4 separate regions of the Homo sapiens genome follow, and regions 1, 2 and 4 are each linked to region 3. The links are contacts of gene promoters, found by promoter capture Hi-C in blood cells and fetal thymus (Javierre and others, 2016). All regions are on one chromosome and are shown on one strand. The core of a region is centred on a gene start or on the middle of the fragment in contact, and the rest is flanking DNA. Distances in the headings are between cores, read along the strand shown.

Region 1 (6,777 bases), core at 3,750-6,249, 180 kb before region 3:
CTATGTTGCCCAGGCTGGTCTCGAACGTCTGGGCTCAAGCGATCCTCCCACCTCAGCCTCCCAAGAAGGTGGGATTGCAGGCATATGCCACTGCACCCAGCCCAGTTCTGATTCTTATAAAAAGAAAATCACATTCTAGCTGGATGCCTATAGTGCCAGTTACTTGGGGGAACTGAAGCAGGAGAACAGCTTGAGCTCAGGAATTTAAATCCAGCCTGGGCAACATAGTGAGATAGATCCCATCTTTAAAAAAAAAAAAAAAAAAAAAAAAATTCACCGCTGGGCATGGTGGCTCACGACTGTAATCCCAGCACTTTGGGAGGCCAAGGCAGGTGGATCACCTGAGGTTGGGAGTTCAAGACCAGCCTGACCAACATGGAGAAACCCCATCTTTTACTAAAAATACAAAAAATTAGCCAGGCATGGTGGTACATGCCTGTAATCCCAGCTACTTGGGAGGCTAAGGCAGGAGAATCCCTTGAACCCAGGAGGCGGAGGTTGCGGTGAGCCGAGATTGTGCCATGGCACTCTAGCCTGGGCAATAAGAGCAAAACTCTGTCTCAAAAAAAAAAAAAAAAAAAAAATCACATTCTAAACTCATCTAGGGTACAGTCACATATGTATATGGGTGGAGACAGAATCTTGCTATGTTGCCCAGCCTGGTTTTGAAGTACTGGGCTCAAGTGATCCTCCCATCTCAGCCTCCCGAGATGCTAGGATTACAGGTGCACGCCACCATGCCTGGCTGAAGACTCTTATTTTACAACTTGGTTTATATAACTTTACCGTCATCCTAACAGTCTAGAGTACTACTGTCACACAGCATTCATCTACTAGTTCCTCTGAAATGTCTTCTGTAGTCAGTTTTCTTCTCTTTGCCATTATAGGAGGAAGATGAAAAACTATGGATTTTTAAATATGTCCAATGAAAGCTTAAAAGTTGAAAAATAGTATAAAAATTACCATGTACTCCTTCACCTAGATTCTCCAAATGTTAACATCTTACATAATGTTTAAGATGGTATCTCCCAACTTCTTTTATACTTTCTTGAAAGATGCTGTAGGCTGGGCATGCTGGCTCATGCCTGGAATCCCAGCACTTTGGGAGGCTAAGGTGGGTGGATTGTTTGAGCCCAGGAGTTCGAGACTAGCCTAGACAACATGGCGAAACGTTCTCTCTACAAAAAAAATACAAAAATTAGCCAGGTGTGGTGGCACATGCCTGTAGTCCCAGCTACTTGGAGGGCTGAGGTGAGATTGCTTGAGTCTGGGAGGCGAAGGTTGCAGTGAACTGAGATTGCGCCACTGCACTCCAGCCTGGGTGACAGAGTGAGACCCTGTATCCAAAAAGAAAAAAAAAGTTGCTGTAAGTTTTGGGAAAAGCAATAAGAAAACTGAAGGGCTGCGGTGCACACCTATAGTCCCAGCTACCGAGGATGCTTAGGAGGGATGATCACTTGAGCCCAGAAGTTTGAGGCTGCAGAGAGCTATGATCATACCACTGCCCTTCGGCCTGGGCAACAAAGCGAGGCCCCATCTCTAAAAACTGAAGTGTAAAACTAATGATTTATTTCACTACTGCATATCCTTTTAAGCAATTCTATAATTCTCCCTTTGTCATATTATTTTAGTCCTCTTTAGCATATTTGAGAATTGATGAGTAATGATGAAATAATTCCTAGGATGATGAAATACCAAAACATTTCAATATACAGGAAAAATAAGATCAGTAAAACTCCACAACATTGTTTCGATGTACAAGTGGTAATAGCTAAAATGAGTTTATTCCTTTGGAAAAAAAATAAATTTTCAGGCTGGGCATGGTGACTCATGCCTGTAATCGCAGCACTTCGAGAGATAAGAAGTTTGAGGCCAGCCTGGCCAATATGGTGAAACCCCATTTCTACTAAAAATACAAAAATTAGCTGGGTATGGTGGTACACACCTGTAATCCCAGCTACTCGGGAGGTTGAGGCAGGAGAACCAGTTGAACCCAGGAGGCGGAGGTTGCAGTGAGCCAAGATCGCGCTACTGCACTCCAGCCTGGGGATGGAACAAGACCGCATCTCAAAAATAAAATTAAAAATAAAAATAAATTTTCTCTTTGCTGTTTTGAAGACCTCCAATAAATAAAAGTCATGAAATATACATCTTTACAAGTAGTTAGTACTGCTTTAAAAAAAAAAAGCAAAACTCAAAAACTAAAATTGAGTCCAGACCAGGTGCAGTGGCTCAGGCCTGTAATCCCAGCACTTTGGGAGGCCGAGGTGGGCAGACTGCTTGAGCCCAGGAGTTTGAGACCAATCTGGGCAATACAGACTTCGGTGACACTGATGTTACCCAGACATTTCTTACTACTGTAGGTAGAAAATGAACAGAAATTTAGTTAAATTCAAAATGTATTAATAATTGTTATCAATGTTGATTTTCTGATTTGATCACTGTATTGTGGTTTTAAAAGATGCACTTGGGGAATCTAGGTGAAGATTATAGGGCTATTATTTGTATTATTTTTGCAACTCTCTTTGAAGTCTAAAATTATTTCCAAAGAAAAAGTTTTTTAAAAATTAAGTATTAGGCCAGGCATGGTGGCTAACACCTGTAATCTCAGCACTTTGGGTGTCTGAGGCAGGTGGATTGCTTGAGTCCAGGAAGACCAGCCTGAGCAACATGGTAAGACCCTATCTCTATTTAATATAAGAAATATAATCTTTCAAAATATCTATAAGGCCAGGTGCAGTGGCTCATGCCTGTAATCCCAGCACTTCGGGAGGCCAAGGCAGGTGGATTGCCTGAGGCCAGGAGTTCAAGACAAGGCTGGTCAACGTGGTAAAACCCTGTCTCTACTAAAAATACAAAAAATTAGCCAGGCATGGTGGTGGCGCCTGTGATCCCAGCTACTCAGGAGGCTGAGACAGGAGAACTGCTTGAACCTGGGAAGGGGAGATTGCAGTGAGCTGAGATCGCGCTACTGTACTCCAGCCTGGGCGACAGAGCGAGACACTGTCTCAAAAAAAAAAAAAAAAAAAAAAAAATTAGCCAGGCATGGTGGTGGGTGCCTGTAATCCCAGCTACTCGGGAGGCTAAGGCAGAAGAATCACTTGAACCCAGGAGGTGGAGGTTGCAGTGAGCTGAGATTGTGCCAAGCCGAGATTGCACCACTGCACTCCAGCCTGGGAGACAGAGCAAAACTCCGTCTCAAAATAAATAAATAAATAAATAAATAGCTGGGTGTAGTGGCGCATGCCTGTAATCCCAGCTGCTCGGGAGGCTGAGGCAGGAGAATCACTTGAAGCTGGGTGTGTGTATGTGTGTGTGTGCAATGAGCCGAGATAGTACCACTGCACTCTAGCCTGGGCAACACAGTGAGACCTTGTCTCAAAAAAAAGAAAAAAAAAAAAAAAAAAGAAAGAAAGAAAAGAAAATAGAGCATTACAAAGAATAGAACTTGAGATAGTTCTTGAAAGGACAGGTGGAAGTGTCACTCACATCTCACACTGCTTTTATCACATTAGCTCTTCTGCTCCCACACAAACATGGGCACATAACATCTTTAACCATCTATGTATCCTCTACCATGCTCAGCATACTGCTTTGTCTTGTCTGTGGTGGAAACCAAATCATTCATTCATGTATACATTCTCTAATATCTACTGAGCACATACTATGCACCAGGTGTTTTAGGAGCTGGAGATACAACGGTAAACAAAAATCTCTTCCCTCAAGAAGCTTATATTTTAGTGAAAGATGACACAATAGACAAAGTATAATATTTAGAATAGTAGGCAGTGACAGGTATCAAGAACAAAAGGCAAGGAAGAGTTTTTGAAATTGTAGATAAGAATGGTCAGATAATACCTACTGATAAGGTAACTTCTGAGTAAAGGAAGTGAGGGAGCTAGTCATGCAGAAATTAGTGGAGGAAGCCTTCTAGGCAGAGGGGACAGCAACCGCAAAGACCCTCATGTCTTTGTGAGGGCTCACATGTGCTTGACATGTTCCAAAACAGCATGAAGGCTGGGTAGCTGAAGAAAAACGAAAGAAGGACTAGTCAGAAATGTAGTCAGAGAGGTACTAGGATAAGGGTGGCAGGCAGAGGGTACATCAGATTTGTTCTTACAGGTGTTTTTTTATTTTTTGACACAGGGTCTCATTTTGTCGTCAAGGCTGGGGTGCAGTGGCACAGTCATGGCTCACTGCAGCCTCAAGCTCCTGAGCTCAAGCAATCCTCCTGCCTCAGCCTCTCAAGTAACTGGGACTACAGGCACGCGCCAGCATGCTTGGCTAATTTTTAATTTTTTTATAGAGACAGGGTCTTGTTATGATGCCCAAGCTGGTCTCAAACTCCTGGACTCAAACGATCCTCCCACTTGAGCTCCCAAAATGGTGAAATTACAGACATATCCTTTTTTTTTTCTTTTGAGACAGTCTCGCTCTGTCGCCCAGGCTAGAGTGCAGTGGCACGATCTTGGCTCACTGCAAGCTCCACCTCCCGGGTTCACACCATTCTCCTGCCTCAACCTCCCGAGTAGCTGGGACTACAGGTGCGTGTGCCACCATGCCCGGCTAACTCTTTTGTATTTTTTTTAGTGGAGACCATGTTAGCCAGGATGGTCTCAATCTCCTGACCTCGTGATCCGCCTGCCTCAGCCTCCCAAAGTGCTGGTATTACAGGCATGGGCCACCGCGCCCAGCTCATTACAGACATATCTAAATAAGGACTCAGGTTTAATACTCAGACTGAAATGGAAAGCCACTGGATGGTTTTAAGCAGAGAAGTGACACGGTATGACTTAGGTTTCAAAAGAATCACTTGGGTTGCTATGTTGAGAACACATTTAAGAGCCGCAGTAACAAAACAAGGAGAATAGAATCCAAGCTAGAGATGCACAGGCACTGACTAGGGCAGTGGAGATGCAGATCCTAAGTGGTCTAATTCTGGATAGTATTTTGAATATAAAGCAGTAAAATTTACTGATGGACCACATATGAAAAAGACACAGAAGAGTCAACAATGTCTCTTAGTTATCCAAGAGGAGACATCGAGTGGAGACCTTGAGTGGGCCACTAAACATATTAGTCTATGGTAGAGGGAGAGATCCCCGTTAGAGTCATCAGCATTGTTTGGATTTTAGAAAGGTAATATGGTACATATACTGTATCATCTCTCTCTCCCAGCTAGGGCTGAGTAGCTCCCCATAATCAAGCAGTCACATTTCTGCATCATGCAGGATAGCCCAGGTCAGGCTGTACCCCAAAACTAGTTGTGGAACTAGACTTACCAAAAAACAAAAACTCTTGCATTTCAGAACTGCAAATAAAGGATGTGGACCTGCATATCCTCCAATAGCCCATATGTCAGCAAGCCTAGCCCTGGAGGACACCAAGAAGACTCATGAAGGGTCCACTGTCATGCTGAGAAATATGGGTAACATACAAGCATACAAGACAAAAAGTGGGTAGGGAAAACAAAAGCAAAAGGGGCAAATAAGAAATACATCAGGTAGAAATTGCCACCCATGACCGGGCACGGTGACTCACGTCTTAATCCTAGCACTTTTGAGAGGCTGAGGCAGAAGGACCTCTTGAGCCCAGGAGTTCGAGACCAGCCTGGGCAACACAGCAGGACTTCACCTCTATAAAAATATAAAAAAAATTAGCCAGGTGCGTGGTGGCACACACCTGTAGTCCCAGCTACATGGGAGGCTAAGGTAGGAGGGTCGCTTAAGTCCAGAAGATCAACACTGCAGTGAGCTGTGATCATGCCACTGCACTCCAGCCTGGTGACAGAGCGAGACTTCGTCTAAAAAAAAAAAAAAAAAGACATGAGAAAAAAAGACATTATGCGGCCGGGTGCAGTGGATCATGCCTGTAATCCCAGTACTTTGGGAGGCTGAGGCGGGCGGATCACGAGGTCAGGAGTCTGCGACCAACCTGATCAACATGGTGAAACCCTGCCTCTACCAAAAGTACAAAACTTAGCCAGGCGTGTGGTGGCGCCCCAGCTTCTTCTTCGTGGAGGCTGAGGCAGGACAATCGCTAGAACCCGGGAGGCGGAAGTTGCAGTGAGCTGAGATTGCACCACTGCACTCCAGCCTGGGAGACAGAGCAGGACTCCATCTCAAAAAAAAAAAAAAGTCTAGTGCCTAACACAGTATCTGTGACACAGTAAGTGCTCAATAAATATCAGCTTTTATTTTTCAAGGGGCGAGGAAGGTGTATTTTGAAAAAGCATATACTATTTATTTTTTTAAAGGCCTACAGAAAGTAAAGCTTAACAAACTCTTGGCTGGTGGATTGCCCAGAAAAGAGAGAAAGCCATGAAAAGCACTATGCTAAACTACTGAATGCCAGGGATATAACCTCTTAATTCCAGTTAAAATTCCCAGGTACTAACATCTGCCATGCACAGCTCTCCAGTGTCTTGTCTGCTCCCACTGAAGATGTAAAAAGAATTATACTTCACCAGGAATCTTGTCAAATTACTACACACCTCCTTCCTTAAAAAAGAAAAAAAGTCTTTCTCTGTATGTAAATTATTAAAACCCTCTTAATTACGAAGTGCCAATCTTTCTAAGCTATTTATCTCTGAACAAAATTATAGTATATAAAATAATTATCTGGAGATTATGAAGCATTTATGAAAATGTTCCTAATACAGCAAAACCAGGTTCTTACTTGAATCCTTATAGACTCTTCTGTGTTCCCCAGTATACAGCACTGCAAATCATGGGAACTATATATGTAGCCCAAATTTTCCTCAATGGTCAATCGTTC
Region 2 (7,856 bases), core at 2,120-4,619, 230 kb before region 3:
TGGTTATGTTTCGTTTCTTGAACATAGGTACGTCTAGTCTGTAAAAATTCACTGAGCTGCACAATTCTGATTTGTATACTTTTCTATATATACATGCCGTACCTTATATGTATTTTTTTGTAGAGATGGGGTCTCACTTATTAACCAGGCTGGTCTCAAACTCCTGGCCTCAAGTGATCCTCCCACATCGGCCTCCCAAAGTGCTGGGATTACAGGTGTAAGCCACTGCACCCGGCCTATACATTGCACTTCAACAAAAAGTTGACTAAAATGAAAAAAGTTACAAAACGAACTATTTGTCACTGACTAATTGGTTACTTGCTAGTTGTGTTTGTGCTGGAGAAAAAAGGCTAGGAGCAAAACCAAGTTGTCTCCATTTATCTGAAGTCTGACGAATTCATTAAAAAACAGGCAAAACAGGACAAATACTGTTTAAAAGAGGCAACTGGCTTGAGTTTCATCACAGACTATCACATTCTTTAGCTCCATAGAATAGGTATAGGCTATAGACTCCAAAATATACCACTGCTATGAAAACTGCTTTTATGCCAGAATAAAGTTTTGAGTCCAAACCACAGATTTGTCCAAACAAGCTGTGGTAAGTGTGAGGGTTGGCATTATCAGACAAGACAACATTATGTAAGCCTCAAACCAGGTTAAGTCAGTGGCCAAGCCAGGAATAGGCCATTTAATTTCTAATTTCTACCCAAGTAGATGGAATCACCACAATGAGATCTAAAATTTATCTCTTTCGAGCTAGGACTAGTCTAGATAAAAGCTTTCAGAATTATTTTTCAGTGTCATTAGCTCCTCAACAGATAGAAAGCTAGGGCCATATCTGGGCTTCCTACATCAGCAACACATAAAAAAAAAAAAAAAGAAGAAGAAGATACACTCCTCAGGTTGGCTATTTCCTTAAGAGCCCAGAAGAAATGCTTCATGAAAAAGCTTTTGGCTCACAGCTCAAGTACCTAATTTATGACGTGAACTGGAAGCAGGCAGCACAAAATTACATAAAGCACATGACAGCGTCCTGAACCCTCACTTACTTTCCTTTTCCTGAGTTCTACATCTTTATCCCTGTCCTGCCTGTTCTCCATGTCTCATATCACCTTTTGAGTTCCAGTCTCCTTTCCATAAACTATTTCTACATATTAAGAATGAGCCATAAACCCCACTGGTTAAACAGAAGTCCTGCTCAAAAATATGAGAAAATTCTGTTTTAAGCACTAGGAATTTATGTTCTGTCATGGATTGAAATTGGCTGTGACAGTTTAGTCTCTATCTGTACTTTGAAACAGATGGCAGTAACCCAGAAATCTGCCATTTGAGAAATTAACTGTGATACCCCCTTCCCAGGTGCGTCCACAGTACCAACCACTGACCAAGTGTCCATGATCTAAGCCCTGCATAGGATACTTTGCACAAAGCAACACCACAAGCAACTAGAGCCTCCATTTTTCAGATAAACAGGTTCAGAGAGTTTAACTACACAGACTCTAATGCCTGTGCTCTATTAATAAAAGAAGCAGTCCCAAGTCTAGGTGGCTCTAAGGTCCTCAACCTCACACATCCTCTGTAAATCAGAGGTCTCGGCACTCACTAGGTTCTTTGAGACGTAGCTGAATGGCAGGGCTGTCACTCTTGTCTCGCTTTATGCCCAGCACTTCCCGTTCCCATTCTCTCTCTCGGTTTTCTTCTTCAATTTGCCGTTCGGCTTGGGAACAAATCCGTAGCAGCCTCAGGCAGAGAATCTGGTGCAGTCGCATAAAAATATACCAGTTGTTGTTGACATAGAAGAGGTTGTATACTTCATCCATTCCTCTTAATTTTTGAGCTGCTGTGTTACTAAACAGTAACTTGGACTTAGGGGGACTGCCCCCAACACCATTGTGCTTCTTAACTGCCCCTGTGGCTTCATCTACATCCATCTCTTCTTCTTCCTCTTCCTCCACATCTGAGAGATCACCTCTTTGGGCAAAGAGCAAATCTGGAATAAAATGATGCATGATTTGTTTTATCTTATATTTGTCCTCCTTCTGAATGCCTGTCTGCCTCTTCACATGGTGGATAATCAGAGCAGCAGCATCTTCCAGTATTTGTTTGTCTTCATACGCAAGTGAGAGGTGTGGGCCAACAGGTACACCAGCATTCTCCTCCGTAGCCTGCTCTTGCCTCTGATGGGACAGAGACACAAAAGTATTCTGTGAGATGTCTACAGCGACAACATGTCTACAAGACCACATCAGCCATACATCCCATTATCAACCACAGTGTCTATATTTTTCTAATCAAAAACTTAGGACCTGGGACTGGGAGCGGTGGCTCACGTCTATAATCCCAGCACTTTGGTAGGCCGAGGAGGGTGATCACTTGAGGTCAGGAGTTTGAGATCAGCCTGGCCAATATGGTGAAACCCCGCCTCTACTAAAAATAACAAAATTAGCTGAACATGGTGGTAGGTGCCTGTAATCCCAGCCCTTGGGATGCTAAGGCAAGAGAATCACTTGAACCCGTGAGGCAAAGGTTGCAGTGAGCCGAGATCGTACTACTGCACTCCAGCCTGGGCAACAGAGTGAGACTCTGTCTCAAAACAAAACTTAGGACCTGACTATAACAATAATTTTTGTCCCTCTTCCAGAAACAAATAGGTAATGACAGAGACGTGGTTTGATGTCAAAATACAGGTACCTTCTACACACTGATGACTTACAGGGAGAGTAGGACAGAATTGGAACCATCTTTCTTTCTTTTTTTTGGCAGGGTCTTGCTCTGTCACCCAGGCTGGAGTGCAGTGGAGCAATCTTGGCTCATTGTAACCTCCGTCTCCCGGGTTCAAGCCATTCTTATGCTTCAGCCTCCTGAGTAGCTGGGATTAAGAAGTGCACCACCATGCCAGGCTAATTTTGTATTTTTAGTAGAGATGAGGTTTCACCATGTCGGCCAGGCTGGTTTCGAACTTCTGGCCTCAAGTTATCTGTCCACCTCAGCCTCCCAAAGTGATGGGATTACAGGCGTGAGCCACTGTGCCCAGTGGGACTATCTTTCAAAATTCTGGATTAGTATCTATATAAAGGATATGATATGAGATCTGTGATTTACTTTACTTCTGGGGTGGGGGTATGGAGGGTGACAAAGTAACATCAGCAAAATATGGAGGATTAAGTTTATTTATTTTATTGATTTTGAGACGGAATCTTGCTCTGTCACCCAGACTGGAGTGCAGTGGCATGTTCTCAGCTCACTGCATCCTCCACCTCCCAGGTTCAAGCCATTCTCCCACCTCATTCTGCCGAGTAGCTGGGACTACAGGTGCACACCACCACGCCTGGCTAATTTTTGTATTTTTAGTAAAGACGGGGTTTCGTCATGTTGGCTGGGCTGGTCTCTAACTCCTGACCTCAGGTGATCTGCCCGCCTCAGCCTCCCAAAGTGCTGGGATTACAGGCATGAGCCACTGTGCCCGGCCTGATTAAGTTCACATAAGAGCTCATTTTACTATTTTTAAAGTTCAGGATCACCCCACTCCAGGAATTCCCAATTGCACTGCATTTATGTTTCTATCCATCTCCTAAAACTGAGCCCACGGAAACCAGGATTTATTGCTTATTCATCTCTGATCCTAGCTCCTAGTACTATTTATAGTCCTGGTAGGCATGCTGAATAAGCAAGGATTACAAAGAGTTTGGTGGTCAATGACAAATTTTGAAGCTGTAAGTAAGGAGAGATGGGACTATATGGATACAAGGTATTATTGTTTGAAGGAAACAGGTAGTCGGAGAAGTGGAAAATGGAGGCAGGAGGTATAAGTTGAAACCAGGACAGTAAACTAGGAAACTAGTCAAACAGCTTAGGTATAAAGGTATAGTTTAGATTTAAAATGGTAGAATGAGGAATAGAAAAGGCTATGACAGCTATCAAGCAAGAATCAACAGGTCTTAGAGAGTCTCACCTGCATTTAACAAAGGTAATTTCCAGAAATCAAAGCTGTGCTAAATATAGACTAGAGTCCTCTCACAGATGCAGAAACCCCCCGCTCACCTCATCATAGATACTCTCAATCTCATTGAGTAAGCTCTTAGACCTCAGGACCTTGGTGTCATTCTGTTTAAAGTTGATCCCCTGGTGGTCCAGAGACTTCAAGTAGTATTTCTCATTTTGTTCTCGCCATACTTTGTTAAAGCCTCTCTGAGCTTCTCGCCATTCTTCCTCTTTCATCTTCAACCTAGTGAAGCGGGAAGGGATGGAAACAACACATGGGAATTCAGAGGGTTTAGAAGAAAGAAATTTGCCAGGCTTACTTTAGTTAAAGAAAGGTGCAAAGCTATATTAGGTCTCTCAAAATTACTGGCAACTTGGGATGCTATCAAACCAGTCTTGAACTCTGTTTCATGAGGGAATTACTCATCCAAGACTTACTTTGAGGAAATGATTTATCTCAAAGTCAAATAATTTACCTAGAATGGTTACTTAAAAACAGCATTCCAGGGAATATCTTTCAGGTATAAGTATTCCTTGAAAAAAAGAGTTCTTGTTTCTTTGCTATAGGACTTTGCAAAACGTTCACAATGCTAATAGAAACACAGAAGTCCAAGACAAGAGAACTTGCACAGTTATGTTCCTCTGGATACAGTCAGGAAAGTTCTGATCAGAACTGATTCTAATAACCCAGAAGAGAACAGACTAAGACAAAAAAAAGCACTAAAACTGAAGAATAACCTGTATCTCAAAAGCCAGAAGTTAAATGCTACAGGCAAGAAGAAGAAACCATCAATCTGTGCCAGCTCTTGAGGGGAAGATGAGGGAGAAGAAACCATCAATCTGTGCCAGCTCTTGAGGGGAAGATGAGGGAGGACAAATCAAATCTGGGTATTTGTGAACTGTGCAGCAAATAAGAATTAATTTTTACCAGATGATACTGAGAGAGAACCAAGCTCCTAACAAAGGATTCACAGTGTGGTCAATAATGACATGGGGCTGGGTGTGGTGTGGCTTGTGCCTGTAATGCCAGCACTTTGGGGAGGCCAAGGCAGGAGGATTGCTTGAGCCCAGGAGTTAGAGGCCAGCCTGGGAAATATAGCAAGACCTCATCTCTATTAAAAAAAATAAAATAAAAATTAGCTGGGTGTGGTGGCACATTCCTGTAGTCCCAGCTATTCGGGAGGCTGAGGTGGGAGGATCACCTGAGCCTGGGAAGTTGAGGCTGCAGTGAGCTGTGTTCACACTACTGCACTCCAGCCTGGGTGAAAGAGTGAGATCTTGTCTCAAAACAAAACAAAACAAAAACAAACAAACCACAAAGATGTTAACAACAGTTAGTCCTGAGTGTGGCAGGAACATGGGTGGTAATTATCTTCTTTTCTTTTCTGTATTTTAAAATACTCCCCCAAACATACACACAGAGCCTTCCACCATGAACTTACAAGATTTGTTCTCTAATGTTGGTTACACAGGACCCCCAAAAGAAGTTCCATTCTGCACCTGAATTCCAACAACCAGGGTTGGGGAGAAAGAGAGGTCTCATGGGACAACCAGGTTGAAAATGAGAGCCTTATTTAATGAGACACTGAACCGGTAGTGAAGTACACTAAAGCACTAAGGGCACATTTGCTCATGTACCTTTTAAGGACAATTGGAACAGCAATGGAGGGATTCTTTCTCAGACCATCAATGATGTCAGCTGCTTTATCAGCATATATCCTCTGGAGTGCTTTTCTATGGATGACTTCTGATGTGCCCCCAAGGGTGTTGTCCAAGCGAAATTTGGCTTGTTCTTCAGCAGACAAGCGGGAAAGCTTCTTCTGTATTGCTTCCAGAACCCGGATTGTTGCCAGATTGGTCTCTAAAACTACATCAAGCTGAAGAGGAAGACAAAGAAGGGTATGCTCAGGACCCAAATCAAAATAGAATAGAGTAGTGTTTAGAAGAATAAGGTAGGGAGTCAAACTCCTTGGATTTGAATCCTGGTTCTGCCCTACTAGCTACATAAGACTGTTTCTTTATCAGCAAAATAGGGATAACAGCACCTATTACTCTCACAACCCTGTGTCTGGATTAAATGATACAATCCACATAAAGTATTTAGCACAATACCTGGCACATAAGAACCACAGGATGAAGTTGGATAAATGGTAGTTATTACCACCACCGTCGCTGCTGCCGCCACCACCACCGTGTGCTTTGCTTAGGACTACTGATTTTAGACCAGAGGAACCAAACAGGAGATGACTTTACTGAAACGTTTCCCTGAACTTTCCTGAATTGCTAAGATCCATTATGAACAAACAATAACAATCAAAACAATCCCAAAAGACCGCTTTGTCTTGAGAGTTTTTTGGTTTAACTTGAAATATTTAAATATATTCAAATACTTAAATATTCAATAGCCTTGTTCCACATCCAGTAATAATAAGAGCAGTGACTATCATAACTTAAGGAGTTCACTGTTGTAGCTGCGGGTAACCATTTAAATTCTTATTGGACTCCTGGCAACCTTTGAGTCTACTTTTTCCCTAGCTTAAAATAAGGTTCTCTAAATGAGAAACAGAAAATGAAGTAAATGAGCAGTCTCAACGGTCTACAACCAACTGTTTGCAGAAGTGTTCCCTAAGTTTTCTTGTTTTGGGAATGTGGTAGTCATTTGGTCAATATTTCTGGCCCCTCTTGCTCTCCAATTATGAACAAAAAATGGACTAAACTTCCTGGCTCCCTTATGATTGGATAGGGCCATGTAACTAGTTTTGACCAATGAGTTGTTATGAGATGAGTAGAAGTAATGTTTATTACTTCTAGGCTGCAGCATTTAAAGGTGTGAGATCATTCCAAGCTCTCTTTTCCTCCTAGTGACTAGCAACATTCATAATGGCAGCAATCCCTTGGCCTGAATCCCCAAGTAATTCTGATATGCCAAATCCCCTGCTAAACATCAATGTACATGTAGAATGATTAGAAATTAAACCCATTGGTTTTACAAGTCACTCAGATGTGGGAGTTGTCTGTACTGAGGCATTACTAACCTATCTTGATTGGTAACGCACATTCCTTCAAACTAGCTCATCCCACCAAATCTTAAACACATGCACACCCCACTTCTTTCATGTTTGCCCTTGTAGTCACAAATGGGAAATGAAGTTGCCTCTCATTTGGAGGCATACCAGCTGAGAGAGGATAGGAACACTCTGTCAAAAACAAATGCCAAGCTCTGCTAAACTCATCAGTTAACCTTACTAAACGTAAGTAACAAAGAAATGCCTTCTTTAGCTTGATAACACTCCCTATGGAAGTTAACATCTGTCTTGATTTAGCTTTCTGCAAATAGGTGCAACTCCTTATAAATGCTGGGGCAAAGATGGCCAACCACCTGCCAGTGGCCAGGCAGCATGTGGTTCTCAATTAAAAACACACCAGAAACTGCTGAACCAAGTGTGAGGCGGGAAAACTGGCAAAGAGCTAAAAGAGTACCAAAACAAACAAACAAACAAACAAAAACCAGCAAGATACCTATCCACACAAGTAAGCACAGCCAGTCAATTTAATGTAACAGATACACTAAATAGGATACGTATCATTTTACATCTTTAGACAAACCAGACTTCCCTTTTTAAAAATGATAATGTAAACCAGACATATAAACACACTGAGGATTGAGCCCACTTTCAGTAGTCCCTCTCCTGATATAGGTGGTATGGGGCCTTCTACCACCTCATTTATTCACTCCACTCTTCCCTTCCTAATTACTTCAAAATAAAGCTCCTGGGACAGGCGCAGTGGCTCACACTTGTAATCCCAGCACTTTGGAAGGCCAAGACGGGTGGGTCACTTGAGGTCAGGAGTTCAAGACCAGCCTGGTCAACATG
Region 3 (7,431 bases), core at 2,218-4,717:
GATTGTTACTTCCTCATATTCTAGTTGTGTTTTGTTTTTGGGTGGGCAGAAAGAAGGTTTCAGGGCTACTTATGTGGGACTCACTTGGAAAAGAGCTAGGATGTGGAAGGCTGCTTAACAAGTAACGTCAATGCTCCAGTAGTGTGAAGAACTTCCATAAAGTACATTAGGGAAACAAGACAGGCATGGAGTAGATGTCATTTTGAAAACAGACTTCCCACTTTAGGTGGACCCTAAAGAATGGGAGTGGGGAGAAAGGTGAATTCACACTTCATTCAAGCGCCTGTGAGCCTTAGATTATAAGAAAACAGGAACATTTGGGAGAAATCTGACTTGCACTGCTGGGCTGGCCCAGCCCTTTGGTTCTAGTGTAAACCAGAGGGCACCTCCAGTGCTTAACCTCCATCCCAGGCCAGGTCCAGTGCTCTGAGCATCAAAATCAACAGGTTCATTCCAGAGCCTCTACAGTGAAAAATACAACTCCATAGGCCTCTACTTGGCCAGTGAGTTACTTTCCATTGCACAAGTGAAGTCAGATATTTTTCTTGATTTGAAACATTAGATTTTGTTTAATTTAAAAGGAACTTAAAAATCGTGGTTTGCCAGGTGCAGTTGTGCTTGCCTTTAGTCCCAGCTACTCTGGAGGCTGAGGCAGGAGGTATGCTTGAGCCCAGGAGTTCGAAGCCAGCCTGGGCAATATAGCAAGACCTTGTCTGTAAAAAGAAAAAAAAATTGTGGCTAAATACACATATCATGAAATTCATCATCTTAACCATTTGTAGGTGTACAGTTCTGTAAAGTTAAGTATGTTCAACACTGCTGTGCAGAACTCTCCAGAACTCCTTTTATCTTGAATAACTGAACCTCTGTAACCTTTAAACATAAAAGAAACTTTTTTTTTTTTGAGACAGAGTTTCACTCTTGTTGCCCAGGCTGGAGCACAATGGCACGATCTTGGCTCACCACAACCTCCGCCTCCCAGGTTCAAGTGATTCTCCTGCCTCAGCCTCCCGCGTAGCTGGGATTACAGGCGCCCGCCACCACGCCCGGCTAATTTTGTTTTTGTATTTTTTAGTAGAGACGGGGTTTCACCGTGTTAGCCAGGATGGTCTCGATCTCCCGACCTCCTGATCTGCCCACCTTGGCCTCCCAAAGTGCTGGGATTACAGGTGTGAGCCACCACGCCCGGCCTTTTTTTTTTTTTTGAGACAGGGTCTCACTTTGTCTCCCAGGCTGGACTACAGTGGTGTGATCTCGGCTCACTGCAGCCTCCACCTCCTGGGTTCAAGTAACTCTCCTGCCTCAGCCTCCTGAGTAGCTGGGATTATAGACATGCACCACCATGCTCGGCTAATTTTTGTATTTTTAGTAGAGAAGAGGTTTCATTATGTTGGCGTGGCTGGTCTGAAACTCCTGACCTGAAGTGATCTGCCTGCCTCAGCCTCCCAAAGTGCTGGAATTACAAGCATGAGCCACTGCACCCGGCTTGAGGTGTGCCTTAATATCTTTGCAATGCAACCAAGGGTTGCCATTCCTGAGTGACTGAGGCCTCATGATGAGTGCTTGGGATCCATATGGTATGTTATTCAAATCATCCATAATGGTATGTATGCTATTGTCTCTACTTTTCTGTACTTTTGTGTAAGTTTGAAAGCTTTCATGATAAAATTTTTTTTTTTTTTTTTTTTGAGACGGAGTCTCGCTCTGTCGCCCAGGCTGGAGTGCAGTGGCGGGATCTCGGCTCACTGCAAGCTCCGCCTCCCGGGTTCACGCCATTCTCCTGCCTCAGCCTCCCAAGTAGCTGGGACTACAGGCGCCCGCCACTACGCCCGGCTAATTTTTTGTATTTTCAGTAGAGACGGGGTTTCACCGTTTTAGCCGGGATGGTCTCGATCTCCTGACCTCGTGATCCGCCCGCCTCGGCCTCCCAAAGTGCTGGGATTACAGGCGTGAGCCACCGCGCCCGGCCGATAAAAATTTTTAAAAAGTCATTATGTTTTCAGTTCATCACCAAAGTAATGACCAAATCCAAAGCACCTTTATTAGGCCTATCATGCACTATCTTGGTGTGGGCTCCCGCTCTGCCAAGAACCACACAACCTTTGAAACTGATGTCCTGGGCCTGGCGCGGTGGCTCACGCCTGTAATCCCAGCACTTTGGGAGGTTGAAGCGGGCAGATCACCTGAGGTTAGGAGATCGAGACCATCCTGGCTAACACAGTGAAACCCCGTCTCTACTAAAAAAAAAAAAAAAAATACAAAAAAATTAGCCAGGCATGGTGACGGGCGCCTGTAGTCCCAGATGCTCGGGAGGCTGAGGCAGGAGAATGGCTTGAACCCGTAAGGCGGAGCTTGCAGTGAGTCGAGATCGTGCCACTGCACTCCAGCCTGGACTTCGTCTCAAAAAGAAAAAAAAAAGAAAAACTGATGTCCTGGATACTGGGGCGGTTCCTTTACCTTCCTTCAAGGCTGTTCTTGGCGGGTTCCTGCTGTTTCGTTTTGTTTTTTCTTTGTTGTTGTTGTTTTTTTTTTGAGACAGAGTTTCGCTCTTGTTGCCCAGGCTGGAGTGCAGTGGCATGATCTCGGCTCACTGCAACCTCCATCTCCCGGATTCAAGCGATTCTCCTGCCTCAGCCTCCCGAGTAGCTGGGATTACAGGCACGCGCCACAACGCCCGGCTAATTTTTTTTGTATTTTTAGTACAGATGGGGTTTCACCATGTTGGTCAGGCTGGTCTCAAACTCCTGACCTCAGGTGATCCGCCCACCTCGGCCTCCCAAAGTGCTGGGATTACAGGCGTGAGCCACTGCGCCCCGCCGGGCTCCTGCTGTTTCAACCCATTCCTTGGATGGTGCTGCCTCCAAGTGTTCGGACCTTAGCCCCAGGTGGTCTTAGCACCAGTAACCCCCGCTCCAACTCCCTAAAGTCCGACCCGCCCCAGGCCCCGCCCACGCTCCACCCTCCCTCCCTGTCTAGCCCCCTCCCCCATCCCCTTCCCCCTCCTTCGCGTCTCCCCATCCGGCGCCCCCGCCTCGCGTCCCCTGGGTCCGCATCCTGGCAGCCTCCGCGTTTCCCTACCCCTGCTACCGGGCTCCAGCCCCGGGGACGCTATCTGCTTCACTCGGCCGTGCGCGCCGCCACCGCCCCGCACTGCCTTTTTCTAGGCATGGGGTCATCTAGGCCATGCATGATTCGCCCCTGCCCCACAGAAGTCCCTGAGGGGTCCTGGCCGGACAGCACGGAATAGAAGAACGGAAACTCTCCCAAAAGGAGTCCCAGGCCTGGCTCTATCCCTCCAGATGACGTCCCAGGAGGCCAGAGTGCAGGGCCGGCCAGAGGGAGTCACAGTCCGGCACCGAGAGGCAACTCGGCAGCTGGCGGGGCCCGGGCTCGAACCCAGGGACTCACCCAAACCGAGGTGACCGTCGCACGCGCCGCCGCCACCGGGGCCGACGAATCACCTGCCCTGGGAAGCTAGGTCCGCCCTCCCCCCGCCCCCAGCTGCTGCCTCACCGCTGGGCCCACAGGCCTCGCGCCCTGAGTTTCCGGCTCCTCCCTCCTTTGCGAACGCTGGGAGTTCCGTTGCCTACAGGCCGTTATTTCCGCCTTCAACGGCTGGGGCATTTCCCATCGGCTAGGGAGGGGGTCTTCTTGCATTTGCTTTGCACTGTCCGGGACTCTTCCTGCTAGATGACTTGACCAGGCCGAGGCCTCCCTCCTGAACACAAGCTCTTCGGGGCTCCTTTCGCCAATGGGAGGAGGCTGATCTTGTGGCCGGGCATTCAACGCCCTGGGCCCTGCCGCCTCCCGCAGATCTTCCCGGGCCTTAGGGCTTCACCTGGAGTCCCCTTCCCCTCTTGGGCCCGTGCTCTTAAACGGGCAGTGCCAATTGCCTGGATTACTCCAACTAACCCCTCACACCCAAGTTTCAGACACAGACCTTCGCTCCCCCACTTGCCCTTAACAAAAGCAGATACATACCTCGATTACTGCCTGTTTGCTGCTTTTGCGAGCTTCTTTCCCACTCGGCTGCGGGCTGAGCAATGGTAGGGACCTGGCTTGATTCCTATTTAAGTAGCCAGAGTCCAGCACAAGGGATGGCGCTCAGTAGACCCTGCGTGAAGGAATGATTAAATTGGTGCAAAAGACTAGGGTAAGCGGCAGAGATTTAGGAGATTAAGTCCTGCCAGGGTGTAGCCTCTGCAGGGCGGGAAGGCTGAGATTACAATTTTAAAACTGAATATTTATTGAATGCTTACATTCAGCCAATCCCTGCTTCACACCCATCATCTCATTTAATTTTTTTCCTTTTTTTTCTTTTTTAAGCCAGTAGATATTAACTCTTAATCATGACATGAGGAAGTAGACACACTGAAGCTCAGAGAGGTTAAGTAATTTGGCCAAAGTAACACAGCTTTCAAGGAAAATGTTTGAATTTGCTGAAAGTTTGATGTATAGGGAAGTTGACTACCGATGTATGACAGAAGCAAAGTATCCACCTTTGGCACATTTTGCGTCCACGGAATGCTAAAATTTGGACTTGTGTATTTTATGCACATTACACCATACATTCAGACTAAAAAGAATAGGAAATTAGGCTGATGAAAGGCTATTACTAGACTGGTAAAAAGGGTTCTGGGGCCCTGGAAGGCCAATTTTTCTGGACGTGAGATTTTTTTTTATTTTTTTGAGATGGAGTCTCGCTCTGTCGCCCAGGCTCTGGAGTGCAGTGGCGCAATCTCCGCTCACTGCAAGCTCCGCCTCCCGGGTTCACGCCATTCTCCTGCCTCAGCCTACTGAGTAGCTGGGACTACAGGCGCCTGCCACCATGCCCGGCTAATTTTTTTGTATTTTTAGTAGAGACGGGGTTTCACTGTGTTAGCCAGGATGGTCTCGATCTCCTGACCTCATGATCTGCCCGCCTCGGCCTCCCAAAGTGCTGGGATTAAAGGCGTGAGCCACCGCACCCGGCCTGGACCTGAGATTTTATTTAGGTGGCTCTTTCAGTGGCCAGGCTGAGCAAAGCTGTCCACTAGGGTATTTATTTGGTGCATCCACAAATAAAAGCTCATGTCTGCCTGATTTATGAGACTGACAAAAAAGAGAAGTCCAGGGCCTGACTTCACTAGGGAATTTTGACACCCAGGATATTAGGTATTTTGTGTCCAAACAACCATCCCTTACAACCACGGAGGTCACATCTAATGGTCGGGCTGCATAGAAAAGAATAAAGACCTTAAACATTTTAGGAAAATAGACTGAGACTGAGAAAGAAGTTCCCAAATTCATGCCTGGAGGTCCAGGAGAAATGTTCTAGTTCCTCACTCACACCTAGCTGAATAACTTCCCATATCACTGAAAAAACAAAACAAAACCAGGTCAGGCACTGTGGCTCATGCCTGTAATCCCACCACTTTGAGAGGCCAAGGTGGAAGTAGCCCATGAGTTTGAGACCAGCCTGGGCAACATGACAAAAACCCATCTCCACAAAAAAAAAATTAGCTAGGTGTAGTGGTATGAGTCATGATCCCAACTACTTGGAAGGCTGAGGTGGGAGGATCACTTGAGCCCAGGAAGTCATGGCTGCAGTGAGCTGTGATCCTGCCACTGCACTCAGCCTGGAGACTCTGTCTCAAAACAAACAAAAACCAGAGCACCTGGCCCAGGGGTTCATTTAGAGCCAGTGGGTGTTTCAGAAGGGGCTACCTCTGGAATCTCAGCTTCAGAATGTTGGCCACATGCACACACTGTGCTTTATGTCTTTAAATCAATTAATTTAAGAAAAAAGCCTGACTACATTTATTTAAAAGGGCAACATTGGCCAGGTGTGGTGGCTCATGCCTGTAATCCTAGCACTTTGGGAGGCCAAGGCGGGCAGATCACAAGGTCAAGAGATCCAGACCATCCTGGCCAACATGGTGAAACCCCATCTCTACTAAAAATACAAAAATTATCTGGGCATGGTGGCGCATGCCTGTAGTCCCAGCTGCTCGGGAGGCTGAGGCAGGAGAATCACTTGAACCTGGGAGGCGGAGGTTGCAGTGAGCCGAGATCGCGCTACTGCACTCCAGCCTGGTGTCAGAGCAAGACTCTGTCTCAAAAAAAAAAAAAAAAAGGGCAACATCATAGCATTACCTTACATCAATCACTTCCCACTTTATTAGAAGGTATCTATAAAATAAATACATTGCTCATGCCTATAATCCTAGCACTTTGGGAGGCTGAGGCAGACAGATCACCTGAGGTCAGGAGTTCGAGACCAGCCTGACCAACATGGAGAAACCCTGTCTCTACTAAAAATACAAAATTAGCTGGGCATGGTGGTGCATGCCTGTAATCCCAGCTACTCGGGAGGCTGAGGCAAGAGAATTGCTTGAACCCAGGAAGCGGTGGTTGCAGTGAGCCGAGATCGCGCCATTGCACTCCAGCCTGGGCAACAAGAGCGAAACTCCATCTCAAAAATAAGTAAATAAATAAATACGTGAAAATAATGTTATAGGCTGGTGCAAAAGTAATTGCAGTTTTTGGCCGGGCGCAGTGACTCACGCCTGTAATCCCAGCACTTTGGGAGGCCGAGGCGGGCAAATCACCTGAGGTCGGGAGTTTGAGACCAGCCTGACCAACATGGAGAAACCCCGTCTCTACTAAAAATATAAAATTAGCCGGGCGTGGTGGCACATGCCTGTAATCTCAGGTACTCAGGAGGCTGAGGCAGGAGAATCGCTTGAACCCAGGAGGCAGAGGTTGTGGTGAGCCAAGATGGCGCCATTGCACTCTAGCCTGGGCAACAAGAGTGAAACTACTTCTCAAAAAAAAAAAAAAAGTAATTGCAGTTTTTGCCATTAAAATTAATGGCACCAACCTAATATAATCTTGCTAGATAGATATGGATGTCTGCAGAAAGCTGTAAGTCTGGGGACTTTGTAAAAATCAGAGATTAGCAAGTGTTGAAGTGATAAGGAGTCACACTAACAGAATTTTTCTTTGACGTAATCAGAAAAATTCAAAGAGGACAGAAGAGGGAAGAACCACTTTCTCACTCTATTATTCAATGTCATTAAAGTGGAATCTGTGTACCCCTTAAAATCTTCTGGTTGCCCATGGGCAGGAGAATCCTTACTTAGAAAAGAGAAGGTTGAGAGCAGGAAGGTGTCCAGCCCAGAGGGGAAATGGAGGGAGGTAAGATCACAGAGGCTGCTGGGACACAGGGGCAGGTAAGGGCCTCAGGCCACGGTGGGGAGTTTGGATTTTACCTCCACTGCTGAAGAGGGTTTATTTTTTTGGGGGGTGCGTGGGGGTTGTTTTTGTTTTTGAGACATATCTTGCTCTGTCGCCCAGGCCGGAGTGCAGTGGTGCGATCTCTGCTCACTCCAACCTCCGTCTCCCAGGTTCAAGCAATCCTGCCTCAGCCTCCCAAGTAGCTGGGATTAC
Region 4 (7,724 bases), core at 2,083-4,582, 200 kb before region 3:
CCGCCTCGGCCTCCCAACGTGCTGGGATTACAGGCGTAAGCCACTGCGTCTGGCCTATTTATTTATTTTGAGACATGGTCTCACTCTGTCACCCAGGCTGGAGTGCAGTGGCACAAATTCGGCTCACTGCAACTTCCACCTCCTGAGTTCAAGCGATTCTCGTGCCTCAGCCTCCAGAGTAACTGGGATTACAGGTGCATGCCATCATGCCTGGCTCATTTTTTTGTATCTTCGGTAGTTTTACCATGTTGGCCAGGCTGGTCTTGAACTCCTGACTTCAAATGATCTGCCCTCCTCAGCCTCCCAAAGTGCTGGGATTATAGGCGTGAGCCACCGCACCCGGCCAGCACCTTGATTTTAGATTTCCCAGCCCCCAGAACTTCTCCAGAACTGTGAGAAATAAACTGCTATTATTTAGATTATACAGTCTCAGGTATTTTGTTATAGCAGCACTAATGGATTGAGACAAATGGCCGCTTTTTTGTTTTTGTTTTTTTTGAGACAGAGTCTCGCTCTATCGCCCAGGCTGGAGTGCAGTGGCGCTTTCCCGGCTCACCGCAAGCTCTGCCTCCCGGGTTCACGCCATTCTCCTGCCTCAGCCTCCCAAGTAGCTGGGACTACAGGCGCCCGCCACCACGGCCGGCTAATTTTTTTTTCTATTTTTAGTAGAGACGGGATTTCACTGTGTTAGCCAGGATGGTCTCGATCTCCTGACCTCGTGATCTGCCCGCCTCGGCCTCTTAAAGTGCTAGGATTACAGGCGTGAGCCACCGCACCCGGCCCCGAGACAAATGGCTGTTTAAGAGTTCTTCAGACTTCCATTACGGCCATGGTTAATCAGTGTTTCGGTGTTGCTAGAAATCAGATTGTATAGTTGGTCAATACCCACTTGTTTGATGGTTAGTTTTTCTATACAAATATCATGACAATTTCTGTTGAAATTCAATGGACTATTTTAATTCATATTCTGAACTTTCCATACTAAAATGTTTCATTAATGACCAACTTAAGTGAACACAAAATATATTAAGTTTGCAAAAGGAACCAAGACTTTGGAAGATATTTAAGAATAGCATGCATCATTACACAACAAAAGAACAGTTATCAATAAGACATGGTATGGTATAAGGTAACTACTGCAGAGACGGAAAAAGTACAGAAACCCAAAAGAAAGCAATTATGTGTGATATGTATATGTCTGAAACAAAAAGGTACTGAAAGTCACAGCAAACCAAGCAAACCACTGTTTAAAAATTAGTTATAGGCCAGGTGTGGTGGCTCATGCCTGTAATCCTAGTACTCTGGGAGGCCAAGGAGGGTGGATCCCTTGAGGCCAGGAGTTTGAGAGCAGCCTGGCTAACATGGAAAAACCCCGTCCTAGTAAAAAAAAAAAAAAATACAAAAATTAGGCTTGGTGGTGCATGCCTGTAATCCCAGCTATTTGGGAGACTGAGGCATAAGAATCACTTGAACCCAGGCAGGGGAGGGTGCAGTGAGTTGAGATGGCGCCACTGCACTACAGCCTGGGCAGCAGAGTGAGACTCTGTCTCAAAAAAACAAAAAAGTAAAATAAAAGTTATAGAATAATCCTATGCTTTAAAAACTCTGCATGACACTCACATAATAAATAAGACACCTACATGTAAAAATAGTGAGGAAATTCTCTCATCACCTAAAGCATAGTCCAACTCTTATATAAACTCTCTATAAATGCATGTATACAGTTCTAGGTAGCACAACTTAAAAAAAAAACTTGGATGTAGTTATTTAGAAGCTACAGATTTAAGGAAGCACTTGGGGAGACCCTTAGACTCTGCTGATAAAGTTTCTTAGCTCACTTCAACAGGGATTTACTATTAAGGCCCCGAATCTCCTGAAGTCTACAATCTTGTTGGGAGAGAAAAACACAAGCAACTGTAAAGATAACCTGCTAAATATGTACCAAATATCACTGCTGCTGACATTCAATAACTAAATAACACCAAACATGCCTCAAATCGTTCAAATCCCTTCTTGTCACCACCAATCTACCAAAGACAAAAAACAAAAAAAAAAGACAATGTTGAGGCTTGAAATAATGTGTAAGCATTCTCACTGAACATTTCTTTTTTTTTGTTTGTTTTTTCTGAGACGGAGTTTCACTCTTGTCGCCCAGACTCGAGTGCAGTGGTATGATCTTGGCTTACTGCAATCTCTGCCTCCTGGGTTCCAACGATTCTCCTGCCTCAGCCTCCTGAGTAGCTGGGATTATTACAGGCATGCGCCACCATGCCTGGCTCATTTTGTATTTTTAGTAGAGGCATGGTTTCATCACATTTGTCAGGCTGGTCTTGAACTCCTGACCTCAGGTGATCCACCCACCTCGGCCTCCCAAAGTGCTGGGATTACAGGTGTAAGCCACCATGCCCGGCCTACATTATTATAGAATATAAATGATTTATTGAAGTTGATTCAAATGCTTGTAATGCATTTTAAGACTGATCCAAAAATGACAGGCAATGTGGGAATACTGAGTTAAATTACATGGAGGTACAAGAAGCATTTTACCTCTCCTCATCAGAAAGGAAATTCAACAAGTTATTTTATGCAGGAATATAGTCAAGAGCTTGTGACTAAAAGAACACAACAAGAAATCCTAACTCTATCTATGACTCACTCTATAACCCCAAATCCAAAACCTTTCCTTGTTTCCTTGCCAGTTTCCATAAAGCAAACAAAACATAATCCATATACTTATACCAAAGAGTCCTGTGAGGAAGGTGGGTAAAAACTGGTGTTGTGCTTTGATAGGGTTGATTGAAAAAGGCTATAGAAATACATATGTTTTTGTTAGTTTAATAAGCAAGTTTATAAGCTATTTTGCAACATTAAAGTATAACTACTGAATATACAGTGTTAATACAGAATTAAATCACGCACAACCAAGTTTTAAAAAAAATATTTTCAGGACTTAGTAAAGTGCTAAGCCCGCAGCAATAATACATTTTGGTACACAGCCATCACTCTACAACAGACTGAAAATGTTTTAAAGGAAACATCAATATTCCTTATACACATTTTCCCAAAGACAGAATCCAGAGTGAAGCTTCAGGCCTAAAAAACCTGTACTCTCTTTAAAAGGCTATGCATTAGTCAATACTATGTAAGCCAATATAGAGAGTAAATTTTACAAAATTACTCTAAATCACATAGCTTTGCTGTACTTTATAATATTTATGTAGCATTTAATACTCTTAGGCCAATATTAAACAAGTTCCCAAGAATCCACACCAACGAGGGCAGGGATCAAGAAGAACTAAAGTAAGTATCAGGGAAAACAGAAGAAACAACTATTTGCTGCATATGGATATGTCCTTAGAGGGTTTATTTCTCATTCGTGCCTGCAAGCAACATAAGTAGGTTGCAATAACCAAATGAAGATTTAACATCTCTTCAGAGTTCCTCCATTTATTATTTCCTGAACTTAATTTTATATAAACGTAAAATTAGAAAAATTGAAACCTGAACACTTGCTGCAACAATCACATATTTTGAAAAGTAACATTCAAGTGGTCAGAGATACAAGGTTAGCTGGGAACACAAGCTTCACTTCTCCAGGGATGCCTCATGAATTTCAAAGCACTGAAAACGTACCACACATACTCAGCAGAAAATATGAAAACACTGATAATTCATTCACAGTTACAGTTTTCCCTGAACTTTATAAAGATTCCCCCCAAAAAGGAGCATGTGTTTTACTAAGAATGGACTTGATGATGTGAGTCAATTCAGCTATTCATAAACAGGAATAAAAAGATAAAGGTAATAAGAACATTACAGGCATGAGCTGGGCATAGTGGCTCGCACCTGTAATCCCAACACTTTCGAAGGCCAAGATGGGAGAATCACTTGAGGCCAGCAGTTTGAGACCAGCCTGGGGAACACAGTGAGACTCCCATCTCTGAAACTAAAAACTAAAAAAAAAAATTTTTAAGAATTTAAAAAGATTGAACTGTAAGATATATTACTGGGCCAATTTACTGTACTAACCTGTAGCCAATCATATATGTGCTCAATAGAGAGTTCAAAAGGAAGCAGCCAAAAAATGAATTTTAAGGTTTATTTTGTATTAAAATGGCCCCACAATCCTGATAACATTTGACCGACATGCATTCATACAGTCCACAAACATTTGAGTATATTCTTCTCTGGATCAGGCACTGATGCCAAGATAGGAAACATAAGCAAATTTCACAAAACAAAAACGGTAAAACTTGTGATTCGACAGCTAGTATCTCAGGTTAGAAGTTGTACCACCACAACCAACAAGCTGCAACCAGTATTTCCTGCTAAAGATAAATTTTTTGACCCAAGAAAAAGAGCTGAATACCACCTTCAGCCTCTGAAATTGCTGCTGTCCCTGCACTGGTGCAACTGGTGGGGCTGGATGAGCATGACTCTGGACCACCTGGCCTCCGTGGGGCTGCACCGCTGTTGGGTGATGATGGCTGCTATGAACTGCTGCTATAGCGGGCCCATGACTGCCGGAGCTCTGTGGCATGGCTGAAACCTGGGGTGAACAAAATACAGACAGGAAACTTCAAGGCTTGTACATTCTTCCCCAAATGAGTCTAAATAACTAACACAAATGCACAAAGATAATTAATTGGAAACCCAAATTTCTGCTGGGCGTGATGGCTCACACCTATCTCACCTACATAGGAAGATCGCCTGAACTCAGGAGTTCAAGGCTGCAGTGAGCTATGATCATGCCACTGCATTCCAGCTTGGGCCACAGAGTGAGACCACGTCTCTAAAAAGAGAAAAGAAAGCCTGGGCAACATAGTGACACCCATCTCCACAAAAAATAAAAACTTGGCCAGGCATGGCAACATGCACCTGTGGTCCCACCTACTCCAGAGGCTAAAGGAGGAGGATTGCTTGAGTCCAGGAGTTCAAGGCTGCAGTGAGCTGTGATCACACCACTGCTCTCTAGCCCAGGTGACAGAATGAGACCGTCTCTAAAAAAAAAGAAAGAAAAGAAAAAGAAAGAAACCCAAATTTTCCACAAAAGGAACTGGTTAAATAAATTACAGCCCACCAAAGTTATAACAAAATTATTTGTAGCTATTAAAAATTATATAGCCGGGCACGGTGGCTCATGCCTGTAATCCCAGCACTTTGAGAGGCCAATGCAGGCGGATCACGAGGTCAGGAGATCGAGACCATCCTGGCTAGCATGGTGAAACCCCGTCTCTACTAAAAATACAAAAAATTAACCAGGCGTGTTGGCGGGCACCTACAGTCCCAGCTACTCGGGAGGCTGAGGCAGGAGAATAGCGTGAACCCAGGAGGCGGAGCTTGCAGTGAGCCAAGATCGTGCCACTGCAATCCAGCCTGCACGACAAAGCAAGACTCCATCTCAAAAACAAACAAACAAAAAAATATATATATAGTTTAGCTGGGAACAGTGTCTCACACCTGTAACCAGCACTTTGGGAGGCCCAGGCAGACAGATCACTTGAGTTCAGGAGCTTGAGACCAGCCTGGCCAACATGGTAAGACCCTGTCTCTACTGAAAATACCAAAAAAAATAGCTGGACGTGGTAACACGCATCTGTAATCCCAGCTACTGAGAGGCTGAGGCACGGTAATCACTTGAACCTGGGAGGTGGAGGTTGCAGTGAGCTGAGATCATGCCACTGCATTCCAGCCTAGAAAACAGAGCAAGACTCTGTCTCCAAAAAGAAGAAAAAAAATTATATAGTTTATCTCAAACTGTCTGTGGTAAAGGATGAGTTTTTTTCTTAAAATTTCAATCCATCAGGGACCACAACTTTTATAAAAATCCAATAAAAATAAATTACTATGAAAGTGAAATAAAAAATACATAAACCCGCCGGGCGTGGTGGCTCATGCCTGTAATCCCAGCACTTTGGGAGGCCGAGGTGGGCGGATCACCTGAGGTTGGGAGTTCTCGAGACCAGCCTGACCAACATGGAGAAACCCCATCTCTACTGAAAATACAAAATTAGACAGGCATGGTGGCGCATGCCTGTAATCCCAGCTATTCGGGAGGCTGAGGCAGGAGAATTGCTTGAACCAGGGAGGTGGAAGTTGCGGGGAGCTGAGATCACGCCACTGCACTCCAGCCTAGGCAACAAGAGTGAAACTCCATCTCAAAAAACAAAACAACAAAAATACATAAACCCGTAATTTTTTTTCTTACCTTTTTATTGAGACAGGGTCCCGCTCTCTCACCCAGGCTGGAGTGCAGTGGTACAATCATGGCTCACTGCAGCCTTGACCTCCCCAGGCTCAGATGATCCTCCCACCCCAGCTTCCCGAGTAGCTGGGACTACAGGCATGTACCACCATGCCTGGTTAATTGTCGTACTTTTTGTAGAAACAGGGTTTCAACATGTTGCCCAGGCTGGTCTTGAACTCTTGGGTATGGAGTCCACCTGCCTTGGCCTCCCAAAGTGCTGGGGTTATAGACGTAAGCCACTGTGCCCAGCCTGTAACTTTCATTACTGGATTTTACAAATAAAAAATGATCATGTCCAATTGCTCTAATAGTTTCTAAACAATTTCTATACTTATGCCATTACAAACTAGTAACAAAGGATACAGATTAGCCATTTTTAAGCCACACTTCAACAATGATATATATGGATATATTTGAATCTGAAAAAAAAGTTCATAATCCACAAGTTGAACATATTCATGTACTGTATATAAACTTTTAAATAGTTTTTTAAAGCACATTACACTGGCTGACAAAGACCCTGTCTCAAAAAAATAATAAAAGCACATTACAAAGCAGTATGATAAAAAGATTTCAAACCTTAGACAACTAATATATAGCAAAATGTTGGCATTTAATCTTGTGGTTACAGAATTAAAGATGACTCTTACTTTGTTTCTTTTTGTTTTTGAAACACTCTCGCTCTATCGCCCAGGCTGGAGTGCAGTAGCACAATTTCGGCTCACTGCAACCTGTGCCTCCCAGGTTCAAGCGATTCTCCTGCCTTAGCCTCCTGAGTAGCTGGGATTACAGGTGCCTGCCACCATGCCCAGCTAATTTTTGTATTTTTAGTAGAGACAGGGTTTCACCCTGGTTAGACTGGTGTCGAACTCCTGACCTCAAATGATCCACCCGTCTTGGGCTCCCAAAGTGCTGGGATTACAGGTGTGAGCCACCGCGCCTGGCCTACTTGGCTTATTTTGCTTATCTTGATTTGCTACGAGCACTGTATCTAATGTAAAATAAATTTTTTCCCCCTAATTCTTGATGGTTTGGCCTCAAACAAATGTCTTTTCTATTCTTTTATCTCAGTCTTTCTCCTGTCCTCTTACAAGTTTGAGGAAATAAAAGCCAAAACTACTTTCCTTCTATATCTATTTCAAGAAATGCTACAAAATTTTTTTCAGAACTTTTTTCCTTTTTCAGAATTGTTGATCACCACAGAAGACAACAATCTGTCCAAATGCCCAAATGCCCCATCCCCAAAATAAGGAGACTAAATAACATGAAACTTTCTTTCTCTAAACAATGTTAAGTTTTATACCACAATTTAAGAGAGAATAAAACTTTTTTTCAAATCCTCACTTTTATAAAAATTATCCTGGAGGGAGATGAAGAAATGAGGGAGAGGGAGAAACCAAGCAACTATGCATAAATCCACAGAAACAAAACAAGGTGTATTAAGAGTAAAAAGAAACTATTTAGACAATTCTAAAAG

Evidence for each region. Contacts are between HindIII fragments. The CHiCAGO score rates a contact against its expected background, and 5 or more counts as called.
Region 1: a fragment that was not itself captured here is called in contact with the fragment with the promoter of SNUPN in region 3 in 13 of 17 cell types (total CD4 T cells, erythroblasts, activated CD4 T cells and 10 more); the score reaches 11.3 in total CD4 T cells.
Region 2: a fragment that was not itself captured here is called in contact with the fragment with the promoter of SNUPN in region 3 in 3 of 17 cell types (naive CD8 T cells, total CD4 T cells and non-activated CD4 T cells); the score reaches 6.2 in naive CD8 T cells.
Region 4: a contact is called between a fragment that was not itself captured here and the fragment with the promoter of SNUPN in region 3, in 2 of 17 cell types (total CD4 T cells and naive CD8 T cells). The highest score is 5.2, in total CD4 T cells.

Annotation. Positions count from the first base shown.
Region 1 is chr15:75,442,371-75,449,147 of GRCh38, forward strand. All of the region lies in intron 1 of SIN3A (SIN3 transcription regulator family member A), which reads right to left. Among named protein-coding and RNA genes, the nearest start is that of SIN3A, 5.9 kb to the right of the region's middle. The HindIII fragment of the contact is 2,544 bases long and covers 3,728-6,271 here.
Region 2 is chr15:75,390,639-75,398,494 of GRCh38, forward strand. It overlaps SIN3A (SIN3 transcription regulator family member A), which reads right to left. Exons shown (of 21, transcript NM_001145358.2): 13 at 5,620-5,858; 14 at 4,042-4,225; 15 at 1,604-2,177. Among named protein-coding and RNA genes, the nearest start is that of MAN2C1, 26 kb to the left of the region's middle. The HindIII fragment of the contact is 4,847 bases long and covers 947-5,793 here.
Region 3 is chr15:75,622,258-75,629,688 of GRCh38, forward strand. It overlaps SNUPN (snurportin 1), which reads right to left and starts at 3,468. Exons shown (of 9, transcript NM_005701.4): 1 at 3,409-3,468. RefSeq lists a silencer at 2,947-2,996 and an enhancer at 3,647-3,836. The HindIII fragment of the contact is 10,585 bases long and covers 1,653-7,431 here.
Region 4 is chr15:75,418,275-75,425,998 of GRCh38, forward strand. It overlaps SIN3A (SIN3 transcription regulator family member A), which reads right to left. Exons shown (of 21, transcript NM_001145358.2): 3 at 4,373-4,549. Among named protein-coding and RNA genes, the nearest start is that of SIN3A, 30 kb to the right of the region's middle. The HindIII fragment of the contact is 498 bases long and covers 3,084-3,581 here.